Linked DNA regions of Homo sapiens: regions 2 and 3 are each linked to region 1. Evidence: promoter capture Hi-C in 16 types of primary human blood cells and fetal thymus (Javierre and others, 2016). All regions are on one chromosome and are shown on one strand. Each heading gives the region's core, a stretch centred on a gene start or on the middle of the fragment in contact. The rest is flanking DNA. Distances are from core to core; before and after follow the strand shown. Region 1 holds the start of MINDY3 (MINDY lysine 48 deubiquitinase 3). Region 2 overlaps RSU1 (Ras suppressor protein 1). Region 3 overlaps PTER (phosphotriesterase related).

The links. The method cuts DNA at HindIII sites, captures the fragments that hold promoters and counts their contacts. A CHiCAGO score of 5 or more calls a contact.
Region 2: a fragment that was not itself captured here is called in contact with the fragment with the promoter of MINDY3 in region 1 in 7 of 17 cell types (M2 macrophages, M1 macrophages, activated CD4 T cells and 4 more); the score reaches 8.2 in M2 macrophages.
Region 3: a contact is called between a fragment that was not itself captured here and the fragment with the promoter of MINDY3 in region 1, in 1 of 17 cell types (M0 macrophages). The highest score is 6.6, in M0 macrophages.

What each region holds. Positions count from the first base shown.
Region 1 is chr10:15,858,500-15,862,975 of GRCh38, forward strand. MINDY3 (MINDY lysine 48 deubiquitinase 3) reads right to left here and starts at 2,008. Exons shown (of 15, transcript NM_024948.4): 1 at 1,707-2,008. The coding sequence starts at 1,800. It overlaps LOC124902383 (a long non-coding RNA gene), which reads left to right. Exons shown (of 4, transcript XR_007062071.1): 4 at 1-301. RefSeq lists an enhancer at 1,750-1,799. The HindIII fragment of the contact is 10,196 bases long and covers 1-4,476 here.
Region 2 is chr10:16,724,822-16,729,297 of GRCh38, forward strand. All of the region lies in intron 7 of RSU1 (Ras suppressor protein 1), which reads right to left. It overlaps LOC124902384 (a long non-coding RNA gene), which reads right to left. Exons shown (of 2, transcript XR_007062072.1): 2 at 1-4,476. Among named protein-coding and RNA genes, the nearest start is that of RSU1, 90 kb to the right of the region's middle. The HindIII fragment of the contact is 4,019 bases long and covers 313-4,331 here.
Region 3 is chr10:16,441,330-16,445,805 of GRCh38, forward strand. All of the region lies in intron 1 of PTER (phosphotriesterase related), which reads left to right. Among named protein-coding and RNA genes, the nearest start is that of PTER, 6.6 kb to the left of the region's middle. The HindIII fragment of the contact is 8,086 bases long and covers 1-4,476 here.

The sequences.
Region 1 (4,476 bases), core at 758-3,257:
TCACTATACGTCAGATAGTGTGCTAAGCACCTAAATTATTTACATGGCCTCTAATCCTCACAATAACTCTGTAAGGTCTATTATCTGTACTTTACAGAGAAGGAAACTGAGGCTTAAATAAGCTAAATCACATGAACCTGAACCAAGTACATCTATTCCAGACTGTGCTCTTAACCATTACTAGAACTGCCACCCTGAATCTTCCTTGTATTTGCATTACAGTATAAATATAAACAGGGCTGAATATTATCTTATTCTACTTTGTAAAATGTTTAATAAATGTTAACTGATTACAATGGAAGTAAATTTTTTCTTAGTCTTTCACAGTATTTTAGAGCTGCTTACTATTAGAATAAGTAAGTCAAAGTGGGAAGTGTTAAAATAAAATCTCCCTCTAAGAAGCCCAAGATTAGGTAACTGACATAATTGAATGTGAAAAAAAAGAGCCCAAGTCATTACATGTAGGGTTTGGGAACTCAAAGGAAGATAATGAAAACAGAGGTATATTAGGAATCGAGAGACCTGGAATCCACTCCCAGTTCTATCGATTTGTGCAACTTTGGCCCAGTCATTTACCTTTACAACTAATTTTTTTCGCCTGCAAAGCAACAGTGAGGGACTAAATATCCCAACTTAACAATACATCGTAATTGTAATTTTACCAGCTCTTAAAACAAACATGTGGGAGGGAGGGAGAGATTACGTAAATCCTGAATTTTTGTTACAAAATACACGTTTTGAAATAGGGGTTTATATTTACTATGCCAAAATTCCGCCCAATCTATTTCGGGAACAGGTGTTCCCTAAATAGATGTTTTAATAATAATAGTGTTTTACATACATAAATTATTGATCCTTCTGACTCAAGGTTATGTTTTAACCTCATCATCATCTTTCCTAAGTCACCTTTAGGAATGTGTCAGTTGTTTGCCTATCCAAACTTAAGAATTAGGGATAGTTACTAGTATAAAGCGCCCAGCCTGTTACAGTGCAAGAATTCAATAAATGCTTATTTTATTTCATTATTATTTGTACTAAGACTCTTCATGTAAGTAAAAGTCCTGTCTGGGTTACAAGCATACCGGCCGAGGAAGTACTATGATCCATATTCCTTTTTTAACCGTGACAGATAATAAACCATATAAAAAACGGGGATACTTTGGGCCAAGAGTACACTTTTTAGCAAATAACAGTGTTTATACACAGACTACCACGCCTAACCACATAATGACAATACAAACAAAAAACTGCTTTTTGGAATTAGCCACTTGGACTTTCCCTTGGACGTCCCTCCTTCTCACCAAAAATAGACCAACCACCACCAATAGACAGCTCTGTTAGGGGGTAAAGATGCGGAAGGCCACAGCACCCCTTGAGAAAGTGACACCGGGGCACGGGGCGCATCTTCCGTGTCACGCCCTGCAACCCAGCAAGGGGCCACCCTCTCCTCCTCCCCAGCCGAAGGGCAGCCCGGAGGATGGAAAGAGCGCTGCGGGTATTTAGTGGCAGCTGTAACCATTCTCCTACTCAAACTCTCCCCACCAAGGCAAGGCAGGGCGTGTCTAGAAAGTCCAGCTTCAGCGCTGAGCACGGCGACTGGGGCAGAGAGCGGGGCACGCGAGGGGCTGGAGCGAGAGGCGTCACAGGCGGACTCTCGCAGGGCAAAAGAAGCAGCGGCTGCAAGTGTGAGAGCCCCGCCAGGGTACCTTGCGTCCAGCGGCAGAAAATGGTGTCCGAGAGACCGGGGCTGCTCTTGGTGCCCCACACCAGCTCCATCAGCTCTTTAGTCAGTTCGGACATGATGAGGAACCGGCGGGCGGATCTTCGCTTTGCGGACTCCTGCCCCGGAACATGGGGAAGGGGCAACTCCGGAAACAGCAGCTGCGGGACGGCGGCGGCAAACGAATTGGAAGGTGAGGCAGGAAAGAAGAAGGGGCTGAGAGCCACTTGCAGAGACCAAGCCTGTCAAGCCAGGTTGGGGCAGCAGCGAGTTTTCCGTACCGGAAGTGCTGGTGCCACTTCCGACTCCTCTTTAACTCCCGCCCCTTAAGGCTGAGGGCCCGGAAGTCCCCTCCCCGGAAGTGAAATTGGAGGCGGAAACAGGCACGGAAAGCGGTGGAAGTAGCTTCTGACCTTTCTGAACTGTCTGGGACCCTTTGGTGGGGTGGTAGTTTTTGTATTGGGAAGGGGCGTCGGCGTGTTTCTAAACTCCAGGAATACCTTCTTCCTCTACGCACTGCTCTGGGCTAAGCTGGAGGCTCTGAGGCCCAGGCACTAGGAATTAGAACATATGCCCATTGCTTGTATTTTTCAATATTAATTTTGCAAAACTAGAACTATAAGGCAATAGTTGAGTCACAGTGCGGTAACATCCGTGCCTTTGTAGGGCGCTTCTCATAAGCTGGAGGCTGTCCGCCTCTGTACTTCAATAAATCAAAGTCAGACCAACTATTACCTAAAAACATGGCAAAGAATGTGGCATAATGTGCATTAGAAATGCTTCCACCAGCTGCAACGCAGAATTACAAGGTATTTGTAGGGAAACAAATTCAGAGCAACCTGTTTGTAAATGTTACAGCATTTTCATCTCCAGTTTTTGACACTGCAGAGTGTGTGGGCAACACCTGGACTAAAGTTTAGGTTTTACTCATTAACTAGCAGTTAAATTGAGTTCATGTGAAAACTTATGTTTGTGCTGCTTAAAAAAAGAGGGCTTGTATTGCCCGAGCTTTGAATTTAAAACGAAAGGGCAAAATCTGATTTAAAAAAAAATACATGCTTTTATTTTGGTTCTGTAAGGTTTCTGTACTCCTTGGAAACCATATTACTTTGGGATGCAGTAATGCAATAGTTAAGAGGCCAAGCTGTGGGTCATACTGGCCCATATTCCTACCTTTTGCACTTACTAGCAAGTTACCTACTATCTACCTAGGCTTTTTTCTTTCTAAAAGGGAGATTGCATACATTTCATATATTGTAAGGAATAAATGGAAAAAGTAACACATACAAAGGATTTGGTGTACTTCCTAGCACATGGAAGGCATTTATGCAACAGTGGGTATTTTTTTTACCTCAAGAAGCCATTTTGTGGGAATTTGATGCAACAGTAGTTCTGACTTTTTTACCCATAAATTCTAGCCAGTTGTATTTTAGTATAATACGTTATGTTCTCTAATTTCAAAAACATGCAGTTTCATTGTAGAATACCCTTGCATTTGGCTAATTAAAATTAACCCTTAATTTAAAATCTTTTAGATTGCAAATAAGGTTTTGTTAATTTATGCTTTATTACTAGCTATTTTTTCCTATTTATACGTTATTTCTAATTTTATTTTAATTAATTTAATTTTATTTCTTCAGTACCCTTTACTGTAATTACAGGGACTTGCCCAAAGTGCCTGTAGTAGAGCCATAGCATTCCTTTTGATCTTTATTCCCTTTAGAATATCCCTTGCCTTGTTTTTGCAAATCAAATCTTACCTATCCTTCATGTCAGAGTGTGCATGCCAAACTTTCTCCAGTCATTACAATTGAAAGTAATAATTATAATTTCTGAGGCTTCATAGTACCTTATGTGTAACTTGCTTATGACAATTCCTATCATCATTGTATTTGCAAAGAGTTATTTGCTTTTCTCTTGGGATATAAATTTATGGAAGCAAAGAGCTGCCTATTCATAATTCTAGCATGGGGCCTTGAACATCACTGGATCTCAATAATTACGATTCCAAGGAACAAAACTTGCCTTTACTGGAAATAAAGAATTCATTATCTCTCAGCAAGTGAGAGATCGGGGAAGTAGTACTGACTGCTCCAGTTAAATATCTAATATTCGCATGCTGATTACAATTTACGTAATTCTTCCACTTCCTGAAAGACACAGAAGGGTCTATGTACATAGAGCTCATAACTGGCAGACTTCTAAGTTCAGAAGTGTTTCCACATTTGACTTTCTCCATTAATGTATGTAAATATTAATGGTGTAGTGTATATAACACTACATTTGTTTCCTTTACATTAATATAGATAGTAGTTATAAGTTTGATTACTTTGTTATGAAAAAACAAAAAATTGTACTTTCAAACTGTATTTTTTTAAACGAGAAATTTTTTGATCTATGATTTTTCTTAGTTTCCAGCTACAGTGATGCTGGCAAAATCCTGGATAGACATTTATATGAATGTCCTTTCCACTTCCACATTATATTTTTTTTTTTTTTTGAGATGGAGTTTCGCTCTTTTGCCCAGGCTGGAGTGCAGTGTCACCATCTTGGCTCACTGCAACCTCCACCTTCCAGTTTCAAGTGATTCTCCTGCCTCAGCCTCCTGAGTAGCTGGGATTACAGGCACCCGCCACCATGCCCGGCTAATTTTTGTATTTTTAGTGAGATGGGGTTTCACCATGTTGGCCAAGCTGGTCTTCGACTCCTGACCTCAGGTGATCCACCCACCTCAGCCTCCCAAAGTGCTGGGATTA
Region 2 (4,476 bases), core at 1,072-3,571, 870 kb after region 1:
ATTCACATATCATGGGAGCAAGGAAAATGAATGAAATACTGCTCTATGCAACAATCGGGATCAATCTCAAGAAGCAATGTTGAGTGAAAGAAGCCAGAAAGCATACTGAATGGTTCCGTTCATGTAGAATCCCAAAACAGCAAAAGTCAATGATATTAGAAGCTGAAGAAGTAGCTACCTTTGAGCAGAGAGGAAGGCCTGCCTAATGACTGAAAGGAGATCAGAGGAAACTCTGAAACTCCAGTGGTGTTCTATTTCTTCACCTGAATAGTTGTCGTGAGTTTTGGCATGTTGATCATTCGCTGAACTATAAGCTTATGTTATATGCGCTTTTGTGTACATGTACGATGCTTTAATAAATATAGTAGAGATGGGAGAAGAGAGAGAGAATATGAATAAATAAAAATAAATAATCCTATGTACATCCTAGCAGAGAAAGCAAGTCATCATTAAGTGGGCAACTCAAGTTAGCCCCCAGTATCACATTAAGGAAATTCAATGCCCAAAGACAGTATCTACAAGATTCCAGTAAAAGAAAAGGTGACTCGAGATTTTTATACCTAGACGAATTATCTATTAAATGAGAAAGGAACAGATACTCTGAAGTGTTAGGTTCTGAATGCTTCTGTTCCCTCTACAATTCAAGTTCAAACTTAATTATCAACGAAAGCATCTTGAGCGGGGGGCCTTCAGGAGGTGATTAAGTCATGATGTTTACAAGCACACCTAAACCCCTGTGAAAGGTATTCGGTGCGCTTATAACAGGGCTTAAGAAGGGAAGTTCATTCCTCTTGCCCTTCTGCCTTCTGTCATGGGAGGACACAGCATTTCTCTTCTCCAGAGGATGCAGTGTCACCAGATGGAATGCAGCCCTCGCCAGAAAACTGAATCTGTCCGCTCCTTGATCTCAGGCTTCCCAGCCCCCAGAATGGTAAGAAATAAAGTTCTATTATTTATAAATTACCCAGTCTCAAGTATTTTGTGAAACCAGCACAAAATGGACTAAGGCATCTAGTATGCAGGAACAAAGGATATGTAACATAAACCATATTTGAAATAAACAAAAATAAAATTCTTGGCAATTAAATCTAGCCAAATAAGCAACAAATCAAAAAGCTATCAAAACTATTTTGAAAATTACAGTTTAAAATACAGTTATATATGTATAAAACATACATAGAATGTAGATACATATGCACGTATATATGTGTATATACATATAAAACTTCTCAATATTGTCAATAATTGTTATTTTTACTTTACAGTAATATTTTAGGAAGTAATAGCTTAATATTCTTGGACTCACATAGTAAAAGTTCAGAAATTACTTCATCTGATTTTCCTTTCTTAGATTCAAATTTACATTTAAAAATATTATGCTTCTTCATTTGTCAATATAGTTACCTGCTTCTTGACCTACCTTTCTGTCTATCTTAGGAACGTATCTTTTTTTTTTTTTTTTTTTGAGACAGAGTCTTGCTCTGTCACCAGGTTAGAGTGCAGTGGCGCAATCTCGGCTCACTACAACCTCAGCCTCCCAGGTTCAAGTGATTCTCCTACCTCAGCCTCCTGACTAGCTGGATTACAGGTGCCCACCACCACGCCCAGCTAATTTTTGTGTTTTTAGTAGAGACGGGGTTTTACCAAGTTGGCCAGGATGGTCCCGATATCTTGACCTCGTGATCCACCCATCTCGGCCTCCCAAAGTGCTGGGATTACAGGCGTGAGCCACTGCGCCCGGCCAAGAACGTATCTTGAATGATGGTCACCAAAACATACTTCTGATTATTTCAAGGTGGTGGGAATTTGACTGAAATGTTTTTAGCTTTCTGAATGTTTCAGTTGGTTGAAAACAATGAATATAAATTACTTTTATGAGAGCAATACCATCTTTTTTCTCATATTGAATTAGTTGCCAAAAAAATGGCCCGGCTGCCTTCTGCCCACCACCCTCCTACTCTACCTCCCCTCCCAAAATTTGTAGTATTTAATGTACCTAAAAAAATGGACCTCTTTATTTACTATCTGTAGGCATTGGATGAAGCGAGCCAGTAGGTTCAAGGAACAAAACAAAATCCACCATGCAGAAGGGCGTTGCATATGGTTTGACTGTTTTATAAACAAGATGACAGATTCTGATGACTAAACTTGTTTTCTCATTATCAAAAGCAACACTCTGAACTCCAGAACATTTGCTTTAACAACTTACCTGAAGTTAATGAGGGAAGAGTTTCAAGGAACTAATTAATGTGCATTCCTCACAACACAGGCTGCCAGTTGGTGGTTTTTGCCAAGATGCCTACCACAAGGGAACAGGATGTGGCCTCCCATCTTACCTATAGTGACAGGAGTCATTGACTTCAGAGTGGACTCACCTGGGCGGAAAGAGTGACGATGTTCCGCCTGGCTGCATCTTTTGTTATAATTTCACAGAGGAGATAACTTGATTGGAGGCAAATGGACACAAATCCTCCCAAAGCACCCAATTCAACTTTTATATCAAACTTAAAAAACATGCTACCTTTTCTGAGATAAATACGTGTTTCTGGCAAATTCACGACCACAGTGAAGGCCAATTAAAGTTCAAACAGAAGCTGGCAGAAATTTCATTTCCCTCAGAAACAGCAGAAGGCTGTTCAATCATGGATTGCCGCTACCAATATGCAAGTATTACTGATCACGCGAGGTAACAACGGCTGGAATTTCAAAATCTGTGTCTCTAAAAATATACAAAATGTCCAACTCGGGCCACTGTTTTTGGCGCAAGTTCTGGGAAACTCTTAGGGAGAACATTTCGTATTTTTCACTCCGGATCCATAGTGTGAAGCAGGCCCTGAAATCTCCAGTGATGACATGAGTAAACAGTAACAGTAAAGTGATAAAATAAGAAAATTTTTAAAACAGCATTCAAGATACCACTAGCCAAACGGCATCGTGCTAATGACTTCTACTTTTAGATGACAAGTCGTGCTATTTAGACAACCAAATTTCATTGCAGACAGCCTTCAGGAACAGGTACCAAGGCAACCATACCGCTGCCAGGCTGTGGGTAGCCGTGGGGGGCTAGAGGAGGGAGAACACACGGATGAAGATCCGAAACACCACCACAAACTTAAAAAAATTATCTACAGAAAAACTAAAAACTGGACTTCATTCAACACCCATCTGGCATCTCGGAGAGAGAAAGAAATCACTTAGGGCTCCCTGTCTTCAACAAATTGTATCTTTCAAAACTGCCAGTAAGGCAGATTCCAACCCTCTGAATGAGACTATTTGCAAGAGATTTGGGTGGTTGACATTTTAGTGTTATTTCTGGACATGACATCTTTGGTTGATTACTTGGGTATAAAATAATGAGCGAGTGGCCCCTGTCATTTACTCCTGTTACAACAGCGAAAAGCATGCCATTGCTGCTGTCAAAATACGTCATAAAAGACTCATATTTCAAAATAGTTTGGTGTCAAAAGCTATTAATCATAATATCAATATATAGAATGAGGGAGGAGAGCAAAATAAACTTCATTTCTCCCCAATATGAAGAATAAAAATCAGTCACATATACACCTACACCCTTCATCATACCCAGACCCAAATCCCAGTGGAATCAGGATCAGGAAGTGAGGCAGAACCCTGCAGACCAGCCAGCTCATCCAGAAGATGACACATAGGCCCATCATGAAGCAGGGGAAAGAAACCACTTTCACAAACGCAACGGAACTATGAGGTTCATAGGTGTGTTACTATGTGTGGGAGGCGGGGTGATGGCTCCCCAAATATATTTCTGTCCCAATCCCTGGAACCTGCGCATATCAGCTCATGAGGCAAAAGGGACTTTGTCGAAGTGGATAAGTGAAGGATCTTGAGTTGGGGAGGTTATCTGGGTGGGCCTGATATAATTGCAGTGGTGCTTATAAGAGGGATGGGAGAAGAATCAGAGTGAGAGGAGAATGCAATGTGATGACGGTAGCAGAGAATGATGTGGTAGGTTCTGAGGATGAAGGAAGGGGCTGTAAGCCAAGGAATGCAGGCACTCACTAGAAGCTGAGAAAGGCAAGGAGCCATTCTCCTCTAGAGCCTCCTGAAGGAAGTGACTTGGGTGACATGTGGAGTCTAATTCAGTGAAAAAGATCTCAGACTTCCGCCCTCCAGAAGCATAAGAGAATAAATCGGTGCTGTTTTCAGCCACTGTTTGTGCTCATTGTTTATAGCAGCAATAGGAAACTAAGGCACTATGCAAACATATGCCGCGTATTTATCTCCATTAGCACTTTCAGCTACTCTGCAACTTATTTTTCTAGGCCTCAAAATACTATTCATAAAGCATCTATGGAAGCTTTTGCCTCCTGTTACACAAAGTGAGAGTAGAATAATCTACTTTTGTCTTGGCACAGAAAATTTGCAATGAAATGCAACACATTTTAATTCTTACACAAGGCTAGGAAACATTATTAGTGATATTGCAAAAACAAAAATACA
Region 3 (4,476 bases), core at 1,027-3,526, 580 kb after region 1:
TGTCACTGAAGGACATTTGAAATGAATCATCCGTACTTACCATTGACTAATACGTTTTTTTTCAGGCAGCTTCAAAGAGTATTTTAAATATGATTTCCTGGCTATCTGATTTCGGATCTAAGAGTATCAGACTTAGGTTTTGCTGTTAATGTCCTAGGGGCAGTGTGTTCACTCTTTTATTCTGAGTTAAACAGAAGGCAAGCCGGGAGCATTGTGCTTTGGACAGAGCTGTGCTGCATTCTTAGGGGACACTGGCTATAAATCCAGTCTCCCTAGAGGTTAACAATCAAAGTTCTCCCCTTATTATAGTCAGGCGAGTGATATGATGATGATAAATTGCTTGGACGTGACTGGCCCAAGCACTAGTGTGATGAATTATGTTGTTCGGGGCATGACCGAAGATCTTCTATTGTCAGCTGGCAATGCTAAGTATTGGCAGTATTCATAAATAGCCTTTTGCCAATGGTGGTCTCTGCTTTACATATTAAATTCTCTGTTTTCACAGGTTGTGGTTCTTAGTCATCTGTGTCCTCCACTGAATTCACTTACATAATCAGCCTTTTTTTTTTTCCTGTTCCCTACTTATTAAACGGGTGGGATGTGCTCACTTGTGTATGGTAAACACTGAGTTCTTTCTTCACAGAAACTGTTAAAAGAGTAATTATTAGTTCTTTTTACTAAATCCAGAGTAATAGCAACTTATCTTGCAGTGGCTTAATTGGGTAATTATTTGGTGTGTGAAGAGCACTTTGAAGAGAATATTGGTAAATATTGTTAATTTCGTGCTCTTTTATGTAACTGAAAGCCCATTGCGACCACAAAATCCTTGGTGTTACTGTGTACCCACAAAATTTCTTTCCTGATGTGGCTTACTATTTTCCAAATTATTTGTTTGTTGATTTTTAAAAACATTTTTTAAATTTTCATAAATTCTCAAAGTTATCTCATGTTTATGCCTTGACAATTCGACATGTCTCATCTCCTACATTCTTGCATATCTGAAAGGTTAGATGTTATCAGTCTTGCTCTCTAACAGTTTGGAGGACAGATAAAGCCCGACCATGTAATTGAGAAATTGAAATAAAGATTTATTTGGTCAGAGCCCATGCCCTGAGCTGTCATCTGATTGCCATCAGAATTTGTTTAAAAGTGTTAGGTTGGCCATGCACGGTGGCTCATGCTGTAATCCCGGCACTTTGGGAGGCCAAGGCGGGAGGATTGCTTGAGCTCAGGAGTTCAAGACCAGCCTGGGCAACAGTGAGACTCCCATCTCTATTAAATAAGTAAATAAGAATTAGGTTGACTTGCATGTGCCTGGCCAGCTCTTTTGACAGATTTTCTTCTCACTTTATAAATTCAGAGCCTGCAGGCCAGGCGTGGTGTCTCATGCCTGTAATCCTAGCACTTTGGGAGACCAAGGCAGGCGGACCACTTGAGGTCAAGAGTTCGATACCAGCCTGGCCAACATGGCGAAACCCCATCTCTACTAAAAATACAAAAATTAGCCAGGCATACGTCTGTAAGTCCAGCTACTCAGGAGGTTGAGGCAGGAGAATCGCCTGAACCCGGGAGGCGAAGGTTGCAGTGAGCCAAGATTGTGCCACTGCATACCAGCCTGGGTGACAGAGTGATACTCTGTCTCAAAAACAATAAAAATAAGATGAAATAAAATGTAGAGCCCCCAGGTGTAATTAAGGGCCATTTCTGTAGCTTAGATTAGATGACCTTGATTACTCACTATGTTTGTCTTCCTAGGGCTGCCATCACAAAATACCACAAACTGGGTGGCTTTAACAACAGACATTTATTTTCTCACAGCTCTGGCAGCTGGAAGTCCCAGATCAAGGTGTCAGCAGTGTTGGCCTCTTCTGAGGTCTCTCTCTTTGGCTTGTGGATGGCCGTCTTCCCTTTTATGCATGTCTGGGTATTGATCTTTTATAGGGACACCAGTCCTATTGGATTGAGACCTACCCTAACAACCCCCTTTTAACTTAATTACTTCTGTAAAGACTATCTGCAAATACAACCACATCCTAAGGTGCTGAGGGTTCGGGCTGCAACAGACAAATTTTGCAGGGAGATACAACTGAGCCCAAAATGCTCCACTGCAATAGTAATGGTCTGTTTGGAAGCTACTGTTTTTGGAGTTATTTTCTTTGATTGTTAAATTTGACCTTCCAAGTGATGACTACACATCTTTGGAGAATCTCCTCAGTTCAGGAACTTCTTTTTAACTAACATTACTTGGAGGAGAGCTTAATGCTCGTGACTTTAAACATTTATGTAATTAGGTAAAAAGGGAAGCAACATTATTAAATGACTTGGATAGAGTTCATCAAGCAGTTAAGAAAAAAATGTACATAATCAAGCGTACCTTGCAGTCTGAATGACAAACATCCAAATATTTGCTGTAACAACTCGCACATATTTTTACCAAAAATTTCCTCTCCGAATCAGAAACTTACTATGATGAGTCCATGTACTTACGTGTACCATCAAAAAGGGCCAGAGGATCGCTAGAGTATGCTGTGGTCCTATCTGCTCTTTCTATAAAGTGGTATCTTGTGCTCATCTTGCTTAAATATGTTGTGTCTTACAATTATCACGATACTATCAACTGAAAACAGAAAGGTCTGTGAGAAAAGATGTGAGCCTAGGAAGCTAAAAACTTTTTCTTTTTTTTTTTTTTTTGAGATGGAGTCTCGCTCTGTTGCCATGCTGGAGTGCATTGGCGCGATCTCGGCTGACTGCAACCTCTGCCTCCCGAATTCAAGCGATTCTCCTGCCTCAGCCTCCCGAGTAGCTGGAACTATAGGCACGTGCCACCATGCCCAGCTAACTTTTATATTTTTAGTATATTTTCAGCATGTTGGCCGGGATGGTCTCAATCTCTTGACTCGTGATCTACCCGCCTCGGCCTCCCAAAGTGCTGGGATTACAGGCATGAACCACCGCACCCGGCCTCTTTTCTTTTTTTTGAGACGGTGTCTTGCTCTGTCACCCAGGCCGGAGTGTGGTGGTGATCATAGCTCACTTGAGCTTCTGGGCTAAAGCGATCCTCCTGAGTAGCTGGATTACAGGTGCTCAATACCTCAATACCACGCCTGGTTTTTTTTTTTTGGACAGAGGACCTACAGGGAACTTTATTCTCGTGCTTTTGTCTTCACTGGGGCACTACCCCTCGGGAAGACCAGGTTGGCTCCTGGCACAGGGATGCACCTGGTTAATTTAAAAACATTTTTTTTTAGAGATGGGGTCTCACTCTGTTGCCCAGGTTCGTCTCCAACTCCAAGGCTCAAGTGATCCTCCCACCTCGGCCTCCCAAAATGCTAGGATCACAGGCATGAGCCACCACAACCAGCTAGCAAAGCTCTTATATTCAAAGAAATATTGGGGAATGTGAAGGCACAGAAGGCCTCAGTTTGACATTATCTGTCCATATCTATAATGCATACTATCTTTGCTTCTGACGAGCTTTTACAATGTTCCCTCAGAATAGAATAATAGGGTTTTTTTTAATCCTTAAAAGAATCTTACGTAGTAAATTGGTAGTCAGAAATATTAGAGGGTTGTTACATGGGTATGTAAGAGTATATAAGTAAAACTTGGGGTTTTGAATGGGCTGTAAAACACTTTTCTCTTTAAAACTGTTTTAAGTGGAAATGTATTATTGAAGCTGTGTGATGGATGAGTAGGGGTTCACTACACTGCACTCTCTACATTAGCGAATTTTTGAGAATGTCCATATTAAAAAGTTTAAATAAAAGTTATTTTTTAAAAAGGAGAATAAATGAGTGAAATATATGGCCTCCTGTGAGGCAAAATTCGATACCTATATAAGGGACACATTAAATGAGGTATGCATGCCTATGTTAGACAATATTAAGTCGAGTATGGTTTTAACTACCAATCGCTCTGTAGAAAAGTGTTGTTGAGGCTGAGCGTGGTGGCTCCTGCCTGTAATCACAGCTACTCAGGAGGCTGAGGCAGGAGAATGGCTTGAACCTGGGAGGCGAAGGTTGCAGTGAGCCTAGATCGTGCCACTGCACTCTAGCCTGGGCGACAGAGTGAGTGAGATTCCATCTCAAAAACAAAAAAGAAAATTATTATTGAAACCCTTATCCAAGAGTAGCTGGAAGAGTATCTTTCCTAGTTTTGGCCTAGATTATTTGAGACATTTTTTATTTATGCTTCTCTGGCATATGACATGTCTATTACTTCCATGAGTCAGTGCCTTTCTCCCAGTTAGCATTTCCCAGGCTCTCAGGCTGCAGTGTCTCCAAGCTCAGTCTTTGATTTCAGAGCCTATTAGCCATGGCACAAATCCGGTGAACACAGAAACTTACAAAGAGGCCACTTGTCTCCGATGCACTGATGCACCATGCGTGGCTAGTGCCTTCTGCCCAATGTCTTCTCTGAAAACATTCCCTGCTGTTGTAGGAAGGATCCTACAGGCTGACACCAAGGAAGCCATGC